Regions from separate parts of the Homo sapiens genome. Here regions 1, 2, 3 and 5 are each linked to region 4. Evidence: promoter capture Hi-C in 16 types of primary human blood cells and fetal thymus (Javierre and others, 2016). All regions are on one chromosome and are shown on one strand. The core of a region is centred on a gene start or on the middle of the fragment in contact, and the rest is flanking DNA. Distances in the headings are between cores, read along the strand shown.

Region 1 (4,998 bases), core at 516-3,015, 1.5 Mb after region 4:
ACTTCCTAGAGCAGAGAAGGGGAGTAAATGAGGCCCCAGCAGGAGGCATGGAGATTAAAGACTTTAGAGTCTCCTAACTTCCATCCAAGGCTCTGCCCCGTCCCACCCCCTCCACCCGCTGGCCACTTTTCTCACTTCCTAGGAGAGTAGGGAAGTGGCCCCTTCCTCCCTCTCACAGAAAAAAAGCAAAAGAAAAATGCAGCATAGAATAGGGGTTTAGAACACCAGCTGGGATAGTCCCGGTTCAAAGCCCAGTACCCCCACTTAATCAGCTGTGCGATCCCAGACAAGCTACCCGGCCCCTCTGGAGCTAAACTTTCCCAATCTTAAAAACGGAGGAGGCAGGACCCAGTAGCTCACGCCTGTAATCCCTGCACTTTGGAGGCCGAGGTCGGCGGATCACTTGAGGCCAGGAGTCCAAGACCAGCATGGCCAACATGGTGAAATCCCCTCTCTGATAAAAATACAAAAATTAGTCGGCCGTGGTGGCTGGCGCGTGCCTGTAATCCCAGCTACTCGGGAGGCTGAGGCAAGAGAATTGCTTGAACCCGGGAGGCGGAGGTTGCAGTGAACCGAGATTGCGCCACTGTACTCCAGCCTGGGTGACTGAGGGAGACTCCGTCTCAAAAAAAAATTTTTTTAATTAAAAATGGGGGAAATACTCGTCCCTACTTCATAGACCGCCTGTGAAGGTTAAACCTGCTAATTAATGACACATGTAAGGTGTCTGGCACATAGTAAGTGGTCGGTTGTTATTTTACAAAGTCTGAGGCCGTGGTTTTGCACTTGGAGATGGGGAGTTGGTGGGGGTGGATGCAGTTAGGGAGCCTGGACTGCCGAGTTTTGAGTTCGAAACCCACTCTCCCCGAACTCCAGCAAAAACCTGTGCATGGGGGATTCTACCCTGGGGTTCTGTCAATCCCCGCCCCTCCTCTGAGCTTCAGGTTTTATCCTACTCCATCAACGCGCAGGGACGTTGGGCTCTGGGGCTCCTACGGTATGTCCTAGATGAGTGGTGCACCGGGCGCGTAGTTATTCCTGGGAAAAAGACGCAGGAGCGCCAGCTCCCGGCGCCGCCGGGGTCCCCAAGCCCCTGCATCGCGGATGTAACTAATTTTAAAACTATTTGAAAGGCGGGGACGGGGAAGAAAAGACAAAAGGGCAGCGCGCGCCGCGGGGAAGTGGAGTGCGGGAGAGCCCCGGTCGGAGCAGGACCGTGCGCCGGCCAGGGAGGGAGGCGACGCGACAGCTCTGGAGGAGCTCGGATCCCCCCCGCTTTCCGCGCGCCCTGCGGGGCGCCCCCGAGGCAATTCTCCACCCACGGGGACCACGGCCACAGGTTGTGGGGACCGCAGCGGGGCGAGCGGCTGGAGGGAAAGCTGTCCCCAAGCTCCCGAGCGACACTCACCGACTGCAAGAAGCGCAAGGTGCCCACGTAGTCCCTCTCGGTGCCCAAGATCTCGTTGAGGACGCAGAGGCGGAGGCGCAGCTGGCGCTCGGACTCCCGGGCGGCCGCGCACGGGCCGGGGCCGGAGCTGGGCGCCGCGGCGCCAGGGGCCCGGGGGTCCGGGTGGGCGCAGTCCCCGGCCCCGTCGCCGCCGGGCTCGCTGCCGCTGGGCGCCTCCATTCTAGCGCGGCCGCGCGGCGCCGGCTCCTTCCGTCGCGCCGAGCGGCAACTCAGGCGTCCAGGCGCCCCATCCCGGACGGGGCGCGCCGGCGGGCCGGGCTCAGCGGCGGGCCGGGCTCCCGGCGCGGCGGGCGGGACTGGGGGCCGGGCGGCTGGGCCGGGGGCGGAGGCAGCGCGCGGGGGCCGGGCGAGGGGCGGGAGGGGGCGGCCCTCGGGGCTCCCAGACGGCTGGCCCCCCGCCCCCGCGCCAGGGACCGTCTGCCAAGTGCCACGCCGCGCTCGGCCGCAGAGGCGCTCTGCGCGTGCACGGGGCCCCTGGGGACGCGGCGCGGCGCTCGGCGCCTCCGTCGGAAGCTCGGGGGTCGGGCGGGAGCCTCCGGAAGGGCCCCGCGGAGCCGGGAGTCCGAGGCCGCGCGCACGCCGAACCGAGCGTACCAACTCCGCGCCCGGACGCGTGGCGCCCCCCCAACCCGCAGTCACCGCGGGCTACGCCACTCCCACCCGGCACACGCGACACCCGCCGCGCGCAGGCTCCTGCTTGCAGGTCCGGCCGCTGCTCGGGCCAAGTAAACACCGGGCTGGGAAAGCTCGCTGCGGAGCCGCTCGGGGGCAAGCCAGCCCCGCCACGCGCGCCTCCGCGGCCCCGGGAAGTCAGGGGCGACCGCTGCCTGGGCAGTGACGGCCCCTCTCTGGGCAGTGACGGCCCCTCCCGGGAACGCCGGGCCCTCGCGGTGCCCTCGGTGCTACCACGACCTTGGGAAGGAACATGCGTGGCGCGCGCTCGCTCTCACTTTTCTCTTTCCCGTTTCCTTTCCCATCTCTCTCTTTCCTTCCTTCCTTTTCTTTCTGAACTTCTTTGCCCCCTGACCCTGCCCTTTCCACCTTTCCCAGAAGAAATTATTACCTGCTCTTGAGTTATTGATCAAGTGGCAGGTACCCTGCCTGCTCCCCCTTCCATCCACCCACCCCATGGGATAAGGCCTTGGGAAACCCAGCTTCTTGTCAGGTTGCTCTGGGCAATGTTGATCATCACCCGCCTTATCGGAAGGTATGGAGAGGGGAGGAAGTTCTGGGGCCTAGAGTCAGCTGCTCAGGTTCAAATCCTAGCTCCCCACTTGCTGGCCGGGTGGCCTTGGGCTGGTTTCCTTGCTTCAAGATCCTCAGTGTTTTCATCAGTATAACGGGAACGATCATGGTACCTAGCTCCAAGGTCCTCCCCGGGGTTCCATGGGAAGTACTTAGCACCTAGAAAGTTCTCTGTAAATGTTTGTTCTTACTATTATTGCATGTGTGAAGCCCAACACCTAGAAAGTTCTCTGTAAATGTTTGTTCTTACTATTATTGCATGTGTGAACGGCCCTCTAAGCCTGGCCCCACTCTCAAATGGCCCATACAATCCCTAATCACCCGTGTTTCCGGACCAGAGATTGTATCGTCTCTGCAGGGGATAAAGTGATCCACATAGTATCCGCCTCTAGACTGTAGTCATTTTATGGACAGAAACATTGCTTATTTATTCCTGTTCCAAAAGCCTAGGATTTTCCTCCCATTGGCCTCTCAATACTGTAAGTGCCTAAGGACACAGGGAGAGAATGGGGTGGCTTCTGCCCTCTCTGACTTCTTTCTTTGGGATCATGGGCAAGGTAGCATTTGATCTGGGCCTTGGGCTGAGTGAAGTTCCCCTGGGCAGGGAGTAAAGGACATGAGATAGGTGAGCCTGTCACGCTTGGGTAGTGGAGTCAATTGTGTCCAAAGGTAGCTGGTTTTTTATTTATATTTTTATTCCTAATAAAGGCCTCTGGAGTATCTCTGCTTTGTGACTTTAAACTGTTCACGGTACCTTTCTGAGCCTCCGTTTCCTCATCTTTAAATTAATTCTGTCTACCACGAGGGGAGAACATGGCTGGAACATAATGGACCATGGAATGAAGCGGGCTTGCATTTGTATCCCAGTCCAAATCCAACTGGCAGGGTAACCTTGGCCAAGACACGTTATTTCTCTGGGCCTCAGTCGTCTAATCTGTAAAAGGGGAGTCTTTGTGAGAGCGAATTCTATGCAATACAGACTTTCTCAACCTTGGGACTATTGACATTTGGAGTCACATAACTCTTTGTTGGGGGAGGGGCGTGTCCTGTGCATTTCAGGACATTTAGCCGCGTCCCCTACCCACTAGATGCCAGTAGCACTCCCTCCCCAATCTGAGAATCAAAAATGTCTCCAGGCTGGGCACAGTGGCTCCGGCCTCTAATCCCAGAATTTTAGGAGGTCCAAGTGGGAGGATTGTTTGATCCCAGAAGTTCAAGACCAGCCTGGGCAACATAGCAAGACCCTGTCTCTACAAAAAAATTTTAAAAATTAGCTGGGCATGGTGGCACACACCTGTAGTACCAGCTGCTGGGCTGAGGTGGGGAGCTTGCTTGAGCCCAGGAGGTCAGGGCTGCAAGTAAGCTGTGATCACACCACTGCACTCCAACCTGGACAACAGAGTAAGCCTTGCCTCAAAAATAAACAGAAAAAGTGTCTCCAGACATTGCCAGATATCCCTGGGGACAGAATTGCCCCCTGTTGAGAACCACTGATGTAAAGTACCTGACACACATAGCTGGCACAGAGTAGGTGCTCAACAAATGTTAGTTCCCTTCTCAGCCCATGACCAAGGAAGGTTAGCCTCAAGTTTACACACAAATCCCACATTTCACCCAAGAATTGGCCCACACTGCCAAAAAACATTTCCACGTTGTGGATGGGTCCCATCTCTGGCCCACCCCAATGTTTTATACATCGTTACTTCCTCAGATTCTGCTGGGATCTTTTTCCCCTTCCATCCCCATCCCCAGTGGTAATGATGACACTAAAAGATAATACAGCGTTTAGTAACATACTTAAGCTCTCTGTGCCTTGCTTTCCTCATCTGTGAACTAAGAATAATATCAGTACCTACATCATAAAGTCGTTGCAAGGTTCCTGAGTGCATACATGGAGGGTGCTTAGAGCACACAGTAGGTGCTCAATAAGTGAAGTCTTTTACAATGCGTGGATTGAGTGCTGAATCTAATAGGATGCATTTGGCTGCAAGGAGAAGAAAACTGGGCTATTGATAGCTTAAAGCATAAGGACATTATTTAGCAAGAGGTCCAGAGGCAGTTGGTTCCTGAGGCTGGTGTAGGACTTCATGATGTCATCAAGGATCATGGCACCTTTGACCCTCCTATCCTCAGCATGGTGGCTTTTCCTCCCAAGCTTTAGGGCCTCAGAGGCACAAAATGGCTGCTGAAACAGCAACATTGCCTCCTCACACACCTCCAATGAAGGAAAGAAAAGTACGAAGAAGACTCTGTCTCCTCTGTGCTTCTCTCTTTGGGGGAATAAA
Region 2 (4,978 bases), core at 965-3,464, 1.3 Mb after region 4:
GCAGAGCCACTGGGAGGGGCACAGGGTGGGTTGGCTCTGATTGGAGCGGACATGGCAAGAAGGATCTGGAGGTGGAAGCCAGGGCAGCAGGGCCAGCTGCAGGGTGGGGGTGCTCGGGCAGCCCAGCATGGGGAACTGGAGCCTGGAAAGTGCTGGAAGGGAAACATTGCAGGAAGCAGGAGGACAGGGAAGCACCCACCCCACATGCTGGGCAGAGGCTGGCTAGGGACCCGCCCTGGGAGTGGATGGACTTGAATCCTGGGCCCCTCTGCTGAGACCCTCAGGACTTCGGGATGGGAAAACAGAACAGCACAGGGCCGCTGCAGTGACCCAGGGAGAGGAGCTGAGCCAAGCCACCCTCACGCACCCAAGGACCTGCCCCTGGGCCACACCCCAGACAGAGCCCCGGGCTCAGGGTCTGGAGCCACACGGCCTGGGCTCAAATCCAGCCACTGTCCTTGTGAGCAAACTTTGGCTGCAATAATGGGAGGTGCAGCTGGTGAAGGCGCTGGCAGCGGAGGCATTTCCTTAGCATCCCTCTCCTAACCACCCCTGCCCCACTCCAGCCCTCCAGGGAACGCTACCAGTGCCCGGAGGGAGGCAGCTTCAGGCTTGGCTTTCGGCCTCCCCTGCCTGCAAACCCCGAGCTCCAGGCTTGCAGTGGGAGCCTCCCAGGAGCTCTGGGCAGGAGGCCCGCAAGGCTAGGCGGGGCGCCCTGGCCCACAGCGCCATCTAGTGGCCGTCACTTCCACAAAGGTGCACCAGTGACTGTGGGTTTCTGGTCACAAGCTTCGTAAGCACCCCGCTTTACAGTGCATAAGGGCCTTTCATATCCTTCTCCTCCAATCAGAAGAGAGGAAGGGAAAAAAGAGAAAAGAGAGAAGGGAAAGATCCCCGAAAGGAAAGAATTGAAAAATCGAGTCAAGCTCACAGACATATGTTATGGGACAAAGACAAATATAGAAAAGCTTAGAGAGAGAGAAAGAAAATGAGGGGGACGAAAGTAAGAAAGAGACAAATTTTAAAAAGTTTTTAAAAAGAGAGAAAAAAAGAGAAAATATTCACGGCAAGCCCAGCCCAGGAGAGGGATAGCGCCAGTGCCCATTGTCCAGACGATTCCAGGCCCCGCCTCCAGGCTGGCTCTGTCCCAAATACCTGCACCCAGGAGCCAGCCTTCGGTCTGAGTGCTGGAGCCCGGGGAACAGCAGCCTCTGGGCACTACGCGGTCCCCAGCACCACCTGCTGGACAGACAGGGCACTACACTTATCCCGGGAAGTTCCACTTTGGGGCCCTGGAGGAGACTCCTGGTACCCCCGCAAGGCAGCCAGGTGGGCGTAAAGTCTCCATTTCTCAAAGAAGGAAGCTGAGGGTCCCAGAAAGACAGAGAATCTCAGATATGGCCACTCAGCAAGTATCAGGTGTTGACAGATTCAGGAGCAGGCGAGGGTGTCTGACTTCAAAGGTCCTAGTCCAGCCCCCCATGAATGAACCCACGTGGCAGACACAGAGGTTAGAGGGGCCCGCTTGGCCACAGATGGGTGTGGCTTGCGCCCCCCGCTCTGATCACTGTGCTAACCCTGCTTTCTTCTATTAATATTTAGCCGTGATTCACCACTGTCTGGCCCTGGGCTACAGTATGGAAGGGGTGTGGTTCCTGCTCTTACTGCTGGGGGGAAGGTGGACAGGAAGTACACCAACAGTTATTTAGATAAAATCATAAAGCGGTCAACACACCCCATCGTACCTTCCACTTCCTGGGTGGCCTCTGTTGCAGTCCACGCCAAGGGGCCATCTCTGGGTCAGCACCTTTTGACAGATGAAAAAACTGAGGCTCAGAGGAATTCAACCACCTGGGCCCTGCCCTCATCCTGGAGGAGCAGAGAAGGAGAGGCTCCGAGAGACGTCAATGCGGGGCTGCGCCTGCCCCTTGATTCTCCATTGGACGGCACAGTGACTCCGGGTCACCAGGTCCTCCCCGAGCTGACATCGCCATGGCAAGTCCAGAGCTAAGGATCTGGCCGTCAGCGTGAGCAGGCCGGATGAGTGCTCGGACCACGTGGCTCCGGGGAGCTGGAGAGCTGGCACCCTCCTCAAGAAGACAGCCGCTCCTCAGCTCCAGCTGACATGTAGCCAGGTGGGAATGTGGACCAGTGTGACCAGAGCTTCTGATTTTTTCTTTAATCTTTTTTTTAAGAGGCAGGACCACACTACGTTGCCCAGGCTGGAGTGCAGTTGGCTATTCACAGGTGTGATCAAAGCGCACGACAGCCTTGAACTCCTGGTCTCAAGCAATCCTCCCACCTTTGCCTCCAAGTAGCTGGGACCACAGGTGCGCACCACCACACCCAGCTCAGAGCTTCTGATTTTCGAGACAAACTAAAAATCAGAATTCAGAGATGAAATTTGCTGGTTCATAAATATAATTCATTTTTTTAAAACACCATATCAGGAAGGAAGTAAAAAAAAAAACCCACATTTAGTTCCAAGTTTCAGCCTGGAGCCATCAGTTTGAGACCTCTTGTCTCCTGCAAAAATGTCCGCTTGCTCTGAGAGGCCCTTCGTGCTTAGTTTTATACTTGGAGAAACACATCTCGGAGAGGGAGGTGGGCCCGGCTCTCCCTCCCAACTCTGCAAGCACAGCTCTGAGCCTGTAAAGTATGCAACTTGCTCAAGGCCACAGAGAGCCGGCTGGAAACCCAAGCTGCTCCTGCCTACGGCCCCAGGAGAATGTATGTTCCTTCTGCGGGCCCCCAGGGTGGAGGAGAGGCTGAAATCGATGCTTTCTAGAAACGTGTCTGCCTGAAGGAAGACGTCCAATCCTCCCTGTTGACCTCAAATATAGATTGAGGTAACAGGTCTTCCCTCGAAGTGATTTTCCCTGGATCCAAACACTGGCCTCAGATAATTCTAAATAATCAATCCATGACTGTGCCTGAAACCCCACCAGGATTCCCTCTTGCCTGTTAGAGTATTGAGTCCTTTGAAACCTGTAACTGAGAGACGCGAGGATCTCTCTCTGGGAGGGATCCAATCTGGGCCTTCAGAGAATGTAATCTGCAACAGGTTAGTTTGGAAGGAAAAGAGACTGAAAGAGAAGGGGCTCGAGTGTGAAATGGCAGGGCTGGGTGCAGCACCATGGTACAGGGGAGTCCCAAGGGTGGCCATGACCCAGAGGAAACTGTCATCGATTTCAGCATTTTCCAAAGGATTGGAAATCGGGAAAAGATGGAATAAAGAAGAGGCCATACGCAACATACCGAAACCCGGTCTCTATAAAAATTTTTAAAAATTAGCCAGGCATGGTGGTGTGTGCCTGTAGTCCAGGCTACTTGGTAGGCAGCATACTGAAACCTGGTCTCCACAAAAAATTTAACAAATTAGCCAGGCGTGGTGGCACGTGCCTGTAGTTGCAGTTACTTGGGATGCTGAGGTGGGAGGATAAATTGAGCCCAGGAGGTCGAAGCTTAAGTGAGTCATGATCGCGCCACTGCACTCTACCCTGGGTGATAAGAGCAAAAGACCCTGTCTCAAAAAAAAAAAAAAAGGACGAGGGGGCACAGGGCTGGCACAGCAGAACAGGTCTGCAGCCCAGGGAATGAGGTTTCTCTGACTATGCAAACAAACCCAGGCAGCTTCATAAAGATCACCTGGGCCCAGGCAGGTGGAGAACCTGCTGACAGCCTAGGATGCAGCCACCAGGCCCAGGTGTGCACGCAGACTCTCTATTCTCATTGGTGCATTTCACGTCTGCCCAATAGGCCTGTTTGTGGCCAGCGTAAGTTCTGGCTGACTGGGGGTCCGGCACGACCATGTTGTGGGTATTTTGAACTCCACTCCCGCCTGGATCCAACAGGCCTTGCAGGTTGGAGCGAGGAGGATTCTATGGCACCCCTTGGATCCACACTGTCCCCTCAGCACAAGTAAGCCACCCAGGAGGAGGTGTGGAATTCCTGGGAAAACAGTCACTTTTTCCTACCTTCACAGTGAAATGGGAGCTCAGAATCCAGGGGGGAAAAAAGCTGAAATATCAAATAAGGCCTGTTATTTTCCTGTATACCTGGGTTGCAGGCAATCCGTGCAACCTCGGGTCGTCCTCAGCAATCACCCCGCGAGAGAAGCTGCATCGCCCCATTATCAAGGAGGAAACTGAGGCACAGAGTGAAAACATCACTGACTTCGGGGTCGCTGGTTCAAGGCCCCGATGCAGAGATCAGCACTGTCCTCCATGAGGCTTTTAAAGCGCGAGCTCATCCCCTAGTGCCCCCGGCCGCACCCACCCCCCAAGCCACCCACCGCAGATGAAGCAGATCACAGCCTCGTTCTTTGTATTATAAACTGACTTTTAATAATAATAAAAAATCTATCAAGAATTTAACGAGAAGAATCTGTACATTTTAAAGTAAACCAGTGCACAATGCGCTGGCCCTGGGCCCTCCCCCATTTCCCGCAGCAGGGCTAAAGCGGGTCCTCCTTTGTCTCTGATGCAAGATACAGTGACAAGGCCACTGCCTGCCCTCGTGTATGCTGCGGCAAGAGAGGGAAGCGCACCCTGGAGGGCGGGAGGCTCGGATGCCAGATGCCGGGAGGGCTTCAAGCTCCCAGGCCTGGGGGCAGCAGGGAGCCCCCACCTGAACTCACCACCTGCCAGGGGTGACAGGCGTCCCCCCGCTTCCTCCCCAGCTGTGACCTTTCCCTGAAGGCATACCGAAGCTGGGGGGACAAACTGCCGAGGGGGCTTGTGTGGGTCCCTCCTCCCCAGCAGGCAGGGTGGCTTCCTGTGCTCTGGCTGGTGATGTCCCAATCGCCCTGCTCTGAGAAGTTACCATCAAGAAAATAAATCACAGAAGCCACCGCCCGGTGTTTCCCAGTGACCCTCTAACCCGTGTGACACGGCACCTCAGGTGGGGCTCCATCCCCTCCAGCTCCAACCCTGGCTGGCCACCTCTCAGGCCCTTGTAGCCAGTCACTCAAAGAGAG
Region 3 (4,788 bases), core at 623-3,122, 1.5 Mb after region 4:
ATTATCAACAGCTCCATGAAATAAGACCCTTACTCCCCTCCAAATCACCAATTATTGATAACTATGTAACCTCTTCTGATCCTAAAAATGCCAGAGACATAATTATGCACAGTGGTGACAAAGCAGGCATGGGCACCAGGCCAAGTCCTATCTTTCCCCTTCCTGTTACTTTACAGAGCCTCTACCCTTATTTCTACATCATGGTCATATTTGTCATTCCTAGTTGCAATCTGATATTCCTTTGTTTTAATACACTATGGCTGGCCTAACTCTTCCTCCATGGTGGGACATATGGTCCATTTTTGTTCAGCTTTTCAAATGTTAAAAACTCACTCTGCTGGAAATTGAATTTCCATGTGGTGCCCATCTTTCTGGTAATAAGCCATGGATTTCCTTCCTGATTCAAACTTCAGTTTTGTGAATCACAAGACACAGTTTAACTTTTTGTCTGCAAATGTTTTCTGTTGCTGTTCTTTGAAATAAGAACCCATGTGCTCAATTGTGTAATGCTGTAGTTTAATAAATTATTCATTTTGACTCTAAGTCCACAAAGGACTCAAAGTGGTTTATACAAATATATACACCTTGAAATCAATACATGAGGTGGTCAAGGAGAAGGAAAAATAAGGAGTAGTATATCCGATTGGTATTGTGTTCAGCTGCTGGTAAGAGAGACCAGGAATAACAGTGGCATAAACACCACAGATGTTTATTTTTCTCTTACACAAATGAAATCTAGAGAGAGGAAACCCAGAGCTGATGTGGTAGCTCCACAAAATTGAGGATACGATCTCTTTCTATCATCCTGCCTCACTATCCTTAGAATGTGGCCTCCATCCTAAAGTCCACCTCGTGCTGCAGGATGACTGCAGGAGCTCCAGCTATTGCAGCCACATTTCGGGCAGCAAGAAGAAGGAAATGAAAAAATCCTGTAATCCCAGTTTTCTTTAAGGATCATTTTGGAAGTTCCAGCCCAAAACTTCAGCTTACATATAATTGGCCAGAATGTAGTCCTAGCTACAAAGGAGGCTGAGAAATGTAATCTCTTAGTTGTGCCTGATGCCACCCCAAATAAAGTTCAGGGCTTATTTACTAGGAAAGAAGGGCAAATGGATAATACATAGGCCACTAGTCATTTCTGCCACAGGTAAGAAAATGAAATAAAGCGAGACATTTAGCTGGTTCACAAAACTGCCTACTATAAGGACCTTTAAGGTGTCCAGCTGCCAAATTGTCTCTGAGAATCCTAGTAATGATAGCAGAAGGGGAATCTATGACTAAATACTAAGTGTAATATCTAAGCAAAGAGAGCAAACCATTGCTAAAAAAAAAAAAAAAAAAAAAAAAAAAAGCTTCTTTTCTCAATACAGAGATTAAAAAGCAACTCTACCCACAGGTCTTTGTGAGGAAGACATGGGACATGTGGACGATATCCTCACAATATTTCTGCAATAATGAAACAACATGATTCTGGGACTTGCTTCAAATATTCAGCGTGGGGGAGTGGGTAGGAGTATAGCGAAAACCAGATGGGCCATGAGTTGATAATTGTTGGACTGGGTGATGGAGACTGCTTTGTTATATGTTTCCCTTTACTGTGGTGTACATTTAACATTTTTCCATAATAAAAAAAGAATTTAAACCCAGCAATAAATCCTTTCCAACAATTGCTTTTTAAAATGCTCCTTTTAATAAACTTGCTTTTAAGTTCAATTGACAGGTGGTTTTTATCATAACTCCTCCCTCATATTTTTGGCCTTTGTATCTACTGTCCTTATTTATTAACTTATTTTTAACAGTTTTATTGAGATAGAATTTACATACAATTCATTTTTTTTTTTTTTTTGAGACAGGGTCTCACTCTGTCACCCAGGCTGGAGTGCAATGGTACGATCTCAGCTCACTACAACCTCTGCCTTCCGGGTTCAAGGGATTCTCCTGCCTCAGCCTCCTGAGTAGCTGGGTCTACAGGCACCTGCCACGACGCCCAGCTAATTTTTGTACTTTTAGTAGAGACGGGGTTTCACCCTATTGGCCGGGCTGGTCTCAAACGCCTGACTTTATGATCTGCCCACCTTGCCCTCCCAAAGTGCTGGGATTACAGGCGTAAGCCACAGCACCTGGCCTACAATTCATCTTTAAGTGTGCAATTCAATGGTTTCTTGTAGTTGTGCAACCATCACTACAATCTAATTTCGGAATGTTTTCATCACTCTCAAAAGAAACCCCATCCCCATCTCTACCCATGCTCCTTTCCCCACCCCCACCCCCAGCCCTAGACAACTACTAATCTACTTTCTGTCTCTATGCACTCCCCTATTCTGTATATATCATACAGATCATCATACAATATGTTTTTTATGACGAGCTTCTTCCACTTAACATGATGTCTTCAAGCTTCATCCATGCTACAGCATGTATCAGTTCTTTATAACTTTTTACAGCTAAAGAATATTCCATTATTTTGATATACATTTTGTTTAGACAACCATCAATTGATGGACATTTGCATTGCTTCCAGGTTTGGGGTATTATGAATTATGTTGTTAAGAATCTTCATGTTGCTGGGCGCGGTGGCTCACGCCTGTAATCCCAGCACTTTGGGAGGCGGAGGCAGGCGGATCACGAGGTCAGGAGATCAAGACCATCCTGGCTAACACGGTGAAACCCCGTCTCTACTAAAAATACAAAAAATTAGCCGGGTGTGGTGGCGGGCGCCTGTAGTCCCAGCTACTCGGGAGGTTGAGGCAGGAGAATGGCGTGAACCCAGGAGGTGGAGCTTGCAATGAGCCGAGATCGCGCCACTGCACTCAAGCCTGGGCAACACAGTGAGACTCCGTCTCAAAAAAAAAAAAAAAAAAAAAAAAAGAGAGAATCTTCATGTTTCTATGAAGTTTCTATGTGTATGTATATTTTTGTGTCTCTGGGGTATATATACCTAGGAGTAGAATTGCTGGGTTAAATGGCAATTCTATGCTTAATATTTTGAGGAACTGCCAAACTGTTTTCCAAAGTGGCTGTGGTATCTTACATTTTTGCCAGCAATATATAAGGACTGCAACTTCTCCACAGCCTCACTGACACTTGTTATTATCTGTCTTTTATTTTATCCTCACTAGTGGGTGTGGACTGGTATTTCATTGTGGCTTTAATTTGCATTTTCCCAGTGATAATAAATTTAATCATCTTTTCATAAGCTTATTGGTCATTTGTATATCTTCTTTAAAGGAGTGTCTATTCAAATTCTTTGTCCATCCTTCAGTTGGGTTGTCCTTTTTTTTTTTTTTTTTTTAGATGAAGTCTTGCTCTGTCACCCAGGCTGAAGCGCAGTGATGCAATCTTGGCCCACTGCGACCTCTCAGCCTCCCGGGTTCAAGCGACTCTCTTGCCTCAGCCTCCAGGCAGCTGGAATTACAGGCACATGCCACCACGCCCAGCTACTTTTTGTATTTTTTTAGTAGAGACGGGGTTTCACCATGTTGGCCAGACTGGTCTTAAACTCCTGACCTCAGGTATCTGTCCACCTTGGCCTCCCAAAGTGCTGGGATTACAGGCATGAGACACCGTGCCTGGCCCATTGTCTTTTCATGATCAAAACCACAAATAGAAAGGGCATTGTAAAAAATCCCACAGCTAACATCATACTTGATGGTGAATGAATGCTTTCCCCCTAAAATTAGCAACAAGACAAGATGTCTGCTCTCATTGCATCTATTAATTATTGTACTGGACATTCTAGCCAGGGCAATTACATAAGGGGGAAAAGGCATCCAGTTTAGAAAGGAAGACATAAAATTTTATTCTACTTTCAGATGTCTTGATCCTGTATATTATAAATGGCATGGAATCCACTAAAAATTGTTAGAATTAATAAACAAGCTTAGCAAAGCTGTGGGATATAAGATCAACATACAAAAATTTATCTCTATGAAGTGTCAATGAAAAATCAGAAAATAAAATTAAGCAAACAATTCATTTTACAATAGCATCAAAAAGGATAAAATACTTAGGAATAAATTTACAGAAGTACAAAACTTATGCTGTGAAGACTTGAAAACACTGTTGAAATATTAAAGAAGACCGAAATAAAAGGAAAGTCATTGCATTTTCATGGACTGATAGACTTAATATTATCAATGTAGCAATACTCCCCAAACTAATCTACAGGTTTAAAGCAATTCCTATAAAACTCCCAGCTGGGGCCGGGCGCAGTGGCTCAGGCCTGTAATCCCAGCACTTTGGGGGGCTGAGGTGGGCAGATCACGAGGTCAGCAGATCCAGACCATCCTGGCTAACACGGTGAAACCCCGTCTCTACTAAAAATACAAAAAACTAGCCAGGCGTGGTGGTGGACGCCTGTAGTCTCAGCTACTCGGGAGGCTGAGGCAGGAGAACGGCCGTGAACTCAGGAGGCGGAGCTTGCAGTGAGCCGAGATCACCACTGCACTCCAGCCTGGACGACAGAGCAAAACTCCGTCTAAAAAAAAAAAAAAAAAAAATCCCAGCTGGTTTCTTTTTAGTTGGCTGACCCTAAAATTCATGTGGAAATATAAGCAACCCAGAACAGCCAAGACAACTTTGACAAATAACAAAATTGGAAAACTCACAATTCCTGATTTTAAAACTTACTATAAGGTCACAATAATCAAGACAGTGTGGCGTTGGCATAAGGATAGACAGATAAGTCAATGGAACAGATTAAGAGGACAGAAATAAACCCTTACATTTATAGTCAGTTGACTTATTACAATGGAACCAAAATAGTTTGATGTGACAATATAATCTTTT
Region 4 (4,786 bases), core at 1,375-3,874:
TTCCCCCTTTCCTGAAACTGGAAAATAATGCTACTTTGAAAGCAATTAACTTTTTACAGACTCATGCTTGGTAGGGGTCACAGTACCAGAGGAAAAGTGGCTAGCTTGGTCCAGGGTTGGGAACTTGCTGGGGGCTGTACATTTGAAAACAGATCTTGGCTCTCCAAACCTGTGGGAGCCATTTTAATGCAAGCTTTTAGAGGACAAATGCCTTGCCCTTAAGTTCCCTTCCAGCCCAACAAACACAGTATTATGCAAACGTTGAAGGCACCAAACCAGGAGTCTTATGATTAGATATTGCTTCTAGGGAGGCCACAAGAACCTCGATATGTAATTTCCATTTACAGCAAGGAGATAAGAACAAAGAAAATAGCTGAGTGTCTGAACTTACTTGTTTGGGGCAGTGGCACTGTTCAGTTTTAAGTATATAACATCATTAACTGCCTGCAGTTTTACTCTAAGAAGCTAAGCTGGCCTGCCTTGCACAGACTTTTCTCAACTTAGAATGTGGTACGTTTCTGCTGATTAAATGAGCCTTTTTCCAATTCGGTGTCAGAAAGTGGGCTACTGGACACTCATTTGAAAGAAAAAAGATTACTGACTCCATAAAGTTGACATAACACAGCAATTGAATATATTTCCTGCATTTACGGTCATGTCGGATTGGTCTCCAAGCTGAAAATTTATGTACTGAACTTCTAGGGAAATTCTGAAGGTACTGCTAAACAAGACTCTACTTTTCCCACTTAACTTCTAGCTGCAGCCTTAAGTGGTCAAGGGAAATGTAAAAAGTGAGAAATCTTATGTGGGGCCAGCATGCATACAGATGTGTGGAGGAGACCTGAAAAAAGGCCAAAATGTGTTGGTCAGTGAGTCCTGAATCAAACCCAGTCTGGTGGTAGATGAGATTTTGCACTATACATAAGTCCTAAAACATGAGCACACTGACACCACCCCCCCAACACACACATACCACCACCACCACCAGCTTCTACACCACCAATGTTTTTAGGGCTCTGCACCTCTAAGAACAAGCAGTTTCATGACATTTCACAAGCACATCACCTACTCACAGTTTGAATATCCAAACAAACCCCATTAAAGGTCTAGAGTCAAGTCACAATGAACTGAACATTTCTCCCCTGACTCAGGGTAAACAGGAAGTATAATCTTCAATCCTAGCTGCAGGTTATCAGGAAAAACAGTGGATTCAAACAGTCACCTAAAATCAAGACACTCTTTAAAAAGCCCTTATTTTGTTCCTGCTAATGAAGCCCCCAACTCCTGTAGCCAAGACCCACTATTACAAACAGACCCCAAATGTTCGCAAAACTCTTCAAACATGGTCACAGAGGAAATGGATTGCTTTACTTACCCAACAAATGTTCAAGCAACCGTCTCATTTTTCCACAGTTAGGAAGAGAGAACAGGCTGGCAGATTTGGGACTTGATCAAAAAGGAAATTTTTTTAAACAGTTACATGGTATTATTAAAAACACACACAACAACAACAACACAACCCAACAACTGAATATGGAATGCTGTCATGAGCCACAGACATGATTTTATTTCCTCTACACTCCATGACACAGGAGAAGAGAGGAGGATACAATGTATAAAAGGGACAGGAAAATGAAAACAAGGATAAAAGGTAACATTAGTTCCTTGAAAATCATGCAAGAGTAGAAAGCTAAGGGATTCAGAATCCTTGCAGATTTTTTTTTTTTTTTTTTTTTGCAGGATGTTGTCCAAGATCTCTCCCCCCACCCCCCAGTCCCCATCCCTACTCCAAAAAACTTCCTCCAAAGCCTAGAAAACACTTTCAGAAACATTTGCTGGCTGTAGGCTGGCTTGCAGAACACTCTGTAGCAACCTAAGTCAGGAAAACAGGCTGAACAATGTAGTTTCAAGTGCAGAAGCTCTGTAGAATAAGAGAAGACCGTGTACAGACACCACCACCCACCTAGGCCCCAGGAGCTAGACTCTCCTTAGCACTGCTCTGCTGAGGGCACAATTCTTTTGCAAACACGCTCCTCTCTTGTCAAAACTTATCCAGCCTTCCCAGAACCTCTTTGGAGAGGCAAACTTGCCTGCTCTGCTGTCTGCCATGAGCTCTCCTTGGAGAGGAGCCTGTTTGCTTACCTTCCATTTTCTTCCCCCAGCAGGGCATGTGGCAAAAGAGAAGACAATAGTGCAGGGGTGGGAGGGGGGGAACTGCTCAGAGAGAGAGAGAGGGGAAGAGAGAGGGAAGAGGGAAAGAAAAAAAAAAAAAGAAGGAAAAAAAAAAGCTTCTTTTTTGGCATACCAGGATCTAGCTTCAAACTCTTCCAGAAACACCATGCCCTGGTGGAAGGAAAGGTGTGCCAGGCCCTTGCCAGTTTGCAAAATCAAGCTATGGCTAATGGCTACTGAGCCATGTGACCCAAGAAAGCAAAAAAATTCTCTCTAAACAGTTCCAAGTTAACATAAGTGCTCTGGGGGTGAGTGTGGCACGGCCAGCCACAGAGAAATCACACTGCTCGCCCACAATTCGGATGTCTCAGAGGGAGGGGGAAAAAAGATGGTTAAAAAGTCGAGCTTACCTCTGTGGATGCATTGTTAACACTGTGTAATGTCAATACTTATAAAACATGGAGGACAGGCTCCTAGTTCTCACAGAAAAAGGGTTTGGCACTTCGGCTGATGATCTGGCCGCCTAATAAAAGCTCATCCCCGATTGGCTGCCCCGGCAAATCGGAGTGTAAAGCCGCCCCGGATTGGCTGAAACACTTCCTGAGCGATTATCTTTGTGAGGCTCGGGTGAGCAAGAGCCATCCTGTGCATAGAAAAAGACAGGCTAAGCTAGGCCTTTTGCAGCAAGAAAAACTTGGGAAAGGGGCCCCCACACGCACTTCTCCTGCACCCTGGCTAGATTTCCCGGCACGGGCCAGCCAGGGCAGCCAGCCTGACCTGCTCCAGGAAAGCCTGAGGCCCGGAGGTCCCTGGGAAGGGAGTTTCTTGGAGTGGGCTGGAACGGCTCACCCTCACCTGCCCCCAGAGAAACGGCCCTTGTCCAGGGAGGAAGGCCAGCCTTTTTCTAGAACAGTCCAGCAGGGTGGCTCTCCAAGGGGAAGGGGAAGCTGGGGAGTGGGGAGTCCCGGGGAAACAGCCAAGGGGCCAGAAAAAGGGGCTTGAGGCAGGCCTCTGAGAAGCTGGGGGAAGCAGGCAGCCCGGGGGAGCCCCGAAAAATCAGCAGAGAGCAGCCCTGGCTTCTCAGAGGAGCGAGGAGTAGCTGCTGAGGGGAGGAGGGGAGCAGAGTGGTCAAGTTTGCATAGTCATTGTCCCCATGCCTCCTTGCAAGGCAGGCCAGGGAGCCGTGGGCCTCTCGCGCCCTGCTTAGCCAGTCCTGCAGGCAAAATCAACGTGGGTTCCTGTCGCCCTGCCACGATGCCAAGGGGGACCCCTCTCGGTCCTTACCCTAAGAAAAACCCAAAGCCCTCCTCGCAGGCCACATGCCTGGATCTACAAACTTCCCTTCCCTCCCGGCCCCTCCCCCGCGGCCGAGACCTGCTAAACCTGTCAGTTAAACACAAATCTGACTTCCGTATTAGCCTGCGATGCCTTCGGCTTCCTGCCTGTTAACCCTCTCTCGGACTCGGGGCCTGGCTGGGAAAAACTAGGCCTTGAGATCGCAGCGAAGGCCTGTGGAAAAATACCAGCTGCAGCTCTCCCGGCAGATGCAGAAAGAGAGAGAGAGAGCCGCTGTCTCTCAGCCTTTGCTTCCCAGGGAGGCGTGTACCTTGTGAATCCAGGGCACAGGCAGTGCCTCTCGGGCTGAGAAGCCATTTCAATCCAGAGGGAGACAGAAAGATGGCACGCTCAGCCCGGAAACAAGAGCCCCCATTATGCGTCAGGCCTACCCCCGTAGGTCAGCCCTTCCTGCCACAATCATCCCTGTATGTGTGTGCCTGGGGGAGTTGGGCCCTCCTCGGTGGGCAGACAAATCCCCTGGGCTTCCTAAGGATTCTTGCTTCCATTTATTTGCACAGAGAACGGCTTCTTTTCGTCCCCCAAGGCAGATGGAGCAGCGATTTCACACACAGCCCTCCATTTGGCAGCCCCCCCACCCCCCCATCTCTGGCACCGCTCCCCAGTAAAATATTAACTGGTTGTTCAGAGCTGCTTACAATTCTACCCACTTCAATTGCGTTAGGAGGTCTTTGCTGGTCTCCTCCCTAAAGCTGCCTTCGCAGTTGGTCTGTACCCAGAGATAGAAAAGGACCGTAAAATGTCCCCAGCTTTCTCGCTCTCTTTCCTTCTTCGGCATTTTAAATGACAAGGTGCTTAATTAACAGGATTTTTTAAAACAGCAACCTGGAACCACAGAAGCTAAATAAACACCATTCTTTAGAGGCTGGAGAAAGCGTCCAGAGTTAACGCAGCCATATGCCAGGAGGCATAACTCCGGAGCAATAAAGTCTCCCCTCTCCTCCTAAAATTAGGACTTGTGGGCTTTCTTGTCCCACACGGTTCCCACAAAGAAAACGAAGAGCTGATGGCTTGCTTTCCCTGCCCCCCCCCAACCCCCACATGGACAACAGATGCCCACTGCTTGTACATAAATTCTTCCTGGCCGGGAATCTCATATCAAACAGGCTCAGGAACGAGCTGGGAATCGAAACTCACTGTACGGCAGGGCAGGACCCAGGCTTTATAAAAACGGACAGGATGTTGCTGTTGTTACTGTTTTAGGCTGCTGAGGCCAAGCTGCAGGGAGGGACAGCTCCATGGCCACCCAACCTGACAA
Region 5 (5,377 bases), core at 374-2,873, 1.4 Mb after region 4:
AGAATGCCCGGGTTCTAATCATGATTCTACTGCTTATCTACTACGTGGCCTTGGAAAGGCCACTTCCTTTCTCTGTGCCTCAGCTGCCCCATCTCCAAGAGGGGGCTAATCACAGTGCCTACCTTGCTGAGTTGCCGTTAGAACTAAGTCCATGCTTACTTGTCATAACAACCCCGTAAGTACCATTAACATGAACCCTATGTTTCAATGAGAAACTGAGGCACAGGGACGGATAGTGACTTGCCCAAGGTTACACACTCGTAAATGACAGAGAAATTCAAATCCAGACTGCTTATGGCTGCAACGGCTGACTCTCATCCAGGGGTCAGCACATTTTTGCTGTAAAGGGCCAGATGGTAAATATTTTAGGCTCTGCTGGCTACATCCACTCTCTGCTACATATTCTTCTGGGGTTTTGCTTGTTCGTTTAACAAAGCTTTTAAAAAAAAGAGTAAACATCATTCTTAGCTCATAGGCTGTATAAAAACAGGCCATGGGCTATATTTGGCCCAGAGGCCACAGTTTTGCCCACCCTGTCTCTAACCACTACAGTACACTGTCTCTTAATGCTGGTAGCTAATCCAAGTTCGAAAGACACATCACACAGATCACACAAAGCACATCTGCAGGCCCGATTTGGTCCACAGGCTACCAGTTTATAAGTTTCACCTGAAGCTTCTTCCACAACCAGGTGAAGACCTGAGCTACAGCATTTCTAAGACCTATCTAGGGATCGAAGCCATGGCAACAACAAGTGCTGAAGTTCCTTTCGAGATTGCTGGGAGAGATCAACAGCAGGAGCAGACCAGAGGAGGCATGGGAGAGCTGCGTCCCACCCCCACGGCTGCGCACAGCAAAGTCCTGTGTTCGTGGGCAGAGCTGATGGCCCCAGGGTCTGGCCCAGTTCAGAGGCTCCAGCATCACCCACCTTCTCCAGCAGAAAACCAAGATGAAGAATGCCCTGGTACCCTTCCCCTCCCCTTTTGCTTCCAGTTCATGGAGCAAAAATACACAAACCCCTGTGAGCAGGTGCGTGAATGAGGCCCCACCAGCCAAATTAATCCCCCCACAGGGAACCTAAAACACAGCTGCCTTCAGGACAGAGCCAGGACAGGCTCCGGCCAATAGCCATTTTGTTCAGCCATTTCCAAGGGCTGAAACCCTGGGCTGAGAGCAGTGGAAGGCGGAAGAGCCGTCCCCTGGGCTCAGGATCTGTCCAGCAGCCAGGCTGAAGCCTAGAATCAAGACTTCTCCATCCCCACAGAAGCAGCAAACCTTCCCTGCTTTGCCCAGCCAAGACAAAGCCAGGGCTGGCGGCAGGGAAGGAAACAGCAGGTGTATGGAAGGCTGCATTTGCCCAGCCAACACCTATGCCTGCCCTCACCCTGCCTTCCACAAACAGCTCAGACTTTGGTCACGTGGGGTTCATCTGTCCTCACTCATGGCCTGTGGGACCTAGTGATTGGTTCAAGGTTGGAGCACATGACCCAAGTCTGAGCCAATTAGAATTCCCTTGCTCAAAATGATTGGTTCAGGAGTGCAGCACCTGACCCAGGTCTCAGCCAATCAGAACACAACACTGCCCTGCTCACTGTCATTGGATCAGAGTGGAGTGAGACCATGTCTCAGCTAATCAGAGCACAGCAATAGTGATTGGTTCAGGGGTAAAGCACGGGTCTAAGCTGACTGGAGGATGATAAATGGTACATGCAAAGGCTTCATGTAATTTGTCCAGGTCAAAGCGCATGACTCAGGCCCAAACCATTTGGCATATGACCTTCCCCTGGCTGCAGATAGCCAAAGACAGAATGAATCTCAGGACTTTCCTCAGCTCTTAGTAGAGAGGTTCACTCTTTCCCACTGACCTTAAACTTGAGAGGATGTGAGGCCAGGAGAACCACAGCCACCTGCTGCCACACTGAAAATAAGCCTGAATGGTGGAAAGCAGGGTGAACGAGAGAGAAAGAGGCAGGGTCCTGGTTTAAATCCAGCCCGGCCCAAAGCTGACACTGCTGCTAGACTTCTCAGATACTTGAACTAACAAATTTTATGTTATGCTGAAGCCAAAGAGTTTTCTGTCACTTCAAATACGGGAAAGTCTCACCTTAAGGAGGAGCGGGTACTTGCAGATCCTCTGGATCGGAGACAACAGGTAGCCTTCCAAAGGGATGTCCGTGGTCTTCCGGCCTCCCAGAAGCATGCAGCTCTGCAAAGGGACAGGAGACCTTCATGAAACCCACCAAGGATAGCACAGGGACATAGCCACCCTCAACCATGAGAAACGCTCTCAGAGCACAGCTACAATCACTTGGCAAGCGATTTAGCGACCCGTAGAAGTGAAAACGTGCATCATCTACAACCAACACAAACCCTACTGGGCCAAATCTTGCCTACTCCCCATTTTGGTAAGTTTTATTAGAAACACAGCCACATCCATCACATTGGCTGTGGCCCCCTACAAGCTACAACGGCAGAGCTGAGTTGTTGGGGAAAAAAAGGCCATATAGTGGCAAAACTTAAAATATTGACTATCTGGCCTTTTACAGAAAAATTCACCCATTCCTGGTCTAGAGAAGCTTTCACATATACACACCAGGAGACTCAAAAATGCCTTGCTTACAACAGTAAAAAATGGGACGCGACCTAAATATCCATCACCTGAGAATGGAAACATCTGTATTTTTGTTTCAGTCTGTTTGCAGCAGATTTATACAATGGTAGCTAGCTATGCAGCAGTTAAAATGAGATAACCAGGGCCACACGTAGCAACACGGGCGAACCCCAAAAATGTACTCTTGTGCAAAAGAAAGAAGGATATGTACAGTATGAAGCCACTTACAGAGATCTTTTAAAGACATGGCACATAAAACTATGCGCTGTTTATGGAGAGCATGTATGAGGTCAAATATAAAGACATGCGTGTTAAAGGAATGCACCCAATTCCAGTGGGGGTTCCCTCTGTGGAGGGAGAGTTTTGGGTTGGAAAGTGAACCAAGAACCTTCAACTGTTACTGAAAATGTCCTAGTTCTTTAGCTGGGAGGAGTGTACGTGATTCTGTCATATGCATACCTCTATTTTGGCTTGCAGAGTTAAAAAGTACAGCTCTCTTAGGAATGGAATACCGTTACCCTAACTCCCACGCTCAGCCCTAAGCTCCTGTCCACATGAATCAACCCAGTGTTCTCCATGTCAATACTTCCGCCCTGCAGCCCCCTTGCCTCTCTCGGCTCATTCCATGCCTCTTCTCTGGAATGTATTCTCTTCCCCAATAAAAATAATAATAATAATAATACTGCTATCATCCATCGTAAACACTGACCAAGAGCTAATCATGTGTCCAGCAGGCCTCTAGGGCTCCCAACCACCAACCACCCTATCAACTGAAAACTATGATTATTCTCATCTCACAGCTTAGATCCCTGGGGTGTGAGAGGTTTAGTCTTTTACTCCAAGACCATCCCAGAAAAGTGAGTCACAGAGCTGGGACCTAGAGCCAGGCGGGTTGACACCGAGTCTGGGATTGAAACCATGATGCCCATGTGCCCTTACCCCAAGCCCACCCATGCACCAAGGCCATCCCTGCCACCCAACCTGCTCTCAATTCCCAGGACTTCTTCCTCCTAGAGCCTTCATAGGTGGCCATTTGTTCCACGTGGCTCTCAATCACATTACAGGCACTACCCTCTCCTTCAGAGAGGCTCCAACTTAAGAATCCATTTTTGTTTGGCAGGAACCATGAGTTCTGCTGTGTTTCCCTGCCATGCCCTTCACAGTCCTGGGTCCCTCAGGCTCACTATGTGCCCATTATGTGTAAGTGAATGAACTAACCAACTAACTAATGAAGGAACCACCCACCAGCACATCCAGCCATTCCTCCTCAACACCACCCTGGCAAACTGGAAATGAATCCAGACTCTTGGGAAAAGGGATTCCCATCCTATCATTTATTCATTCATTCAACAAATACACATTGTGTGCTGTGTGCTGTGTGCTGTGCACAGTTCCAAGCACTGGGGGGCTGCCCAACAAAACAAATTCCCTGCTTATATTCAAGTGAAAATAAGACCATAAGAACACATACCATGTGCCCACCATATGCCACACGCTGTGCCTTGTGCTTCACATACACAGAAAGTTCATGCCGAAAGCCTAAGGAAATAAGCATGGACCACTGTCCCCTACCACACATGGGGAAATCGTGGCACGAAGAGCTGGCCCAAGTCTCAGAGCTACTTCCACTGCCTCTTAGGGATCACAATAAGCTCTGCCTGGAAAAGCAGAATTCTGGGGACCCCAGGTCCCAGCTCTAGCTGAGCTGAATGGCCCCCACCAGTGTTTACCCCTGGCACAGATGGGGGATTGAGGCTGCGGCAGCTGGGAGATGCCGGGCCCCACGCTGCTCACACTCAGGCCTTTGTCCTAGGAGCCAGCACTTGCCACAGGCTGCCCTGGTGATGTCAGCTCTGGGCAGAGTGCAGGGCGCCTGGGGGTGGGGAAGTGCTTTCTAGAAGCCCCCAGGGCTTGGCGTGAGAAGGGCCCATCTTTGTCCAGGATCAAGGAGTTTTCACAAGATTTTCACAGCCACCAAGGACACTTCCCCACAAACACTCTAGATTGTGGTTTCACTTTATTTTCTTTTAAAAAAAAACAAAAACAAAAAAAACAGGCAAACACACACAGAGCTAGCATTCACTATTCTCACTACATTTCAGGCACTATGGGAAGAACTTCTGAGAAGTCCTTAAATGCTCAAAATTCACAGAAGTGAGTTAGATGAGGCGTCAACCTCATGGTCTTCCCAACCTCCTAATGGCAGCACGTTCCTGGACTATCCTGAGTCCTCCCTTTCTGCCCATGCTGCCCCCCTGGCTGATCCCACCCTGACTCGGCTTTTTTTTCTTTTTTTTCCTGGACAGAATCTCATTCTGTCGCCCAGGCTGGAGTGCAGTGTGCAATCTCGGCTCACTGCAACCTCTGCCTCCTAGGTTCAAGTGATTCTCCTGCCTCAGTCTCCTGAGTAGCTGGGATTACAGGTGCACACCACCATGCCCAGCTAATTTTTGTATTTTTAGTAGAGACAGGGTTTTGCCATGTCATCTAGGCTGGTCTTGAACTCCTGACCTCAGGTGATCTGCCTGCCTCGGCCTCCTAAAGTGCTAGGATTACAGGTGTGAGCCACCGTGCCTGGCCCTGACTTGGCTTTAAACACCATCTTTCTTTATATTGAAAACACTCAGGTTTATCTCTCTAGCCCCTAAACTCCCGACTAGAGTCTCTGCTGCCCCCCCAATGCCCCACCTGGATGTACTGCAGGTATCTTAAGCCTCACACATCCAAAAGGGAATGTTTATTTCCCTCTCCTACCCTAGCCTGCAC

Evidence for each region. Contacts are between HindIII fragments. The CHiCAGO score rates a contact against its expected background, and 5 or more counts as called.
Region 1: a contact is called between the fragment with the promoter of PREX1 here and the fragment with the promoter of ZMYND8 in region 4, in 2 of 17 cell types (naive CD8 T cells and total B cells). The highest score is 10.0, in naive CD8 T cells.
Region 2: a fragment that was not itself captured here is called in contact with the fragment with the promoter of ZMYND8 in region 4 in 8 of 17 cell types (naive CD8 T cells, activated CD4 T cells, naive B cells and 5 more); the score reaches 8.2 in naive CD8 T cells.
Region 3: a fragment that was not itself captured here is called in contact with the fragment with the promoter of ZMYND8 in region 4 in 1 of 17 cell types (total CD8 T cells); the score reaches 6.0 in total CD8 T cells.
Region 5: a contact is called between a fragment that was not itself captured here and the fragment with the promoter of ZMYND8 in region 4, in 1 of 17 cell types (total B cells). The highest score is 6.8, in total B cells.

The regions. Positions count from the first base shown.
Region 1 is chr20:48,826,234-48,831,231 of GRCh38, forward strand. It overlaps PREX1 (phosphatidylinositol-3,4,5-trisphosphate dependent Rac exchange factor 1), which reads right to left and starts at 1,766. Exons shown (of 40, transcript NM_020820.4): 1 at 1,409-1,766. The coding sequence starts at 1,627. RefSeq lists silencers at 1,260-1,329, 1,740-2,419. The HindIII fragment of the contact is 7,694 bases long and covers 1-4,866 here.
Region 2 is chr20:48,619,929-48,624,906 of GRCh38, forward strand. PREX1 (phosphatidylinositol-3,4,5-trisphosphate dependent Rac exchange factor 1) reads right to left here. Exons shown (of 40, transcript NM_020820.4): 40 at 4,324-4,978. Among named protein-coding and RNA genes, the nearest start is that of PREX1, 210 kb to the right of the region's middle. RefSeq lists enhancers at 1-233, 1,056-1,115 and a silencer at 626-755. The HindIII fragment of the contact is 2,496 bases long and covers 967-3,462 here.
Region 3 is chr20:48,879,659-48,884,446 of GRCh38, forward strand. It overlaps a transcript of PREX1 not described here. Among named protein-coding and RNA genes, the nearest start is that of ARFGEF2, 40 kb to the right of the region's middle. The HindIII fragment of the contact is 1,045 bases long and covers 1,351-2,395 here.
Region 4 is chr20:47,354,075-47,358,860 of GRCh38, forward strand. It overlaps ZMYND8 (zinc finger MYND-type containing 8), which reads right to left and starts at 2,625. Exons shown (of 23, transcript NM_001281775.3): 1 at 2,583-2,625. The coding sequence starts at 2,596. It overlaps LOC101927377 (a long non-coding RNA gene), which reads left to right. Exons shown (of 2, transcript NR_134501.1): 2 at 1-559. RefSeq lists enhancers at 2,436-2,605, 2,449-3,056, 2,591-2,885, 3,636-3,985, 3,665-4,270 and 3 more and a cis regulatory region at 4,732-4,786. The HindIII fragment of the contact is 2,834 bases long and covers 2,287-4,786 here.
Region 5 is chr20:48,724,186-48,729,562 of GRCh38, forward strand. It overlaps PREX1 (phosphatidylinositol-3,4,5-trisphosphate dependent Rac exchange factor 1), which reads right to left. Exons shown (of 40, transcript NM_020820.4): 5 at 2,105-2,206. Among named protein-coding and RNA genes, the nearest start is that of PREX1, 100 kb to the right of the region's middle. The HindIII fragment of the contact is 1,901 bases long and covers 674-2,574 here.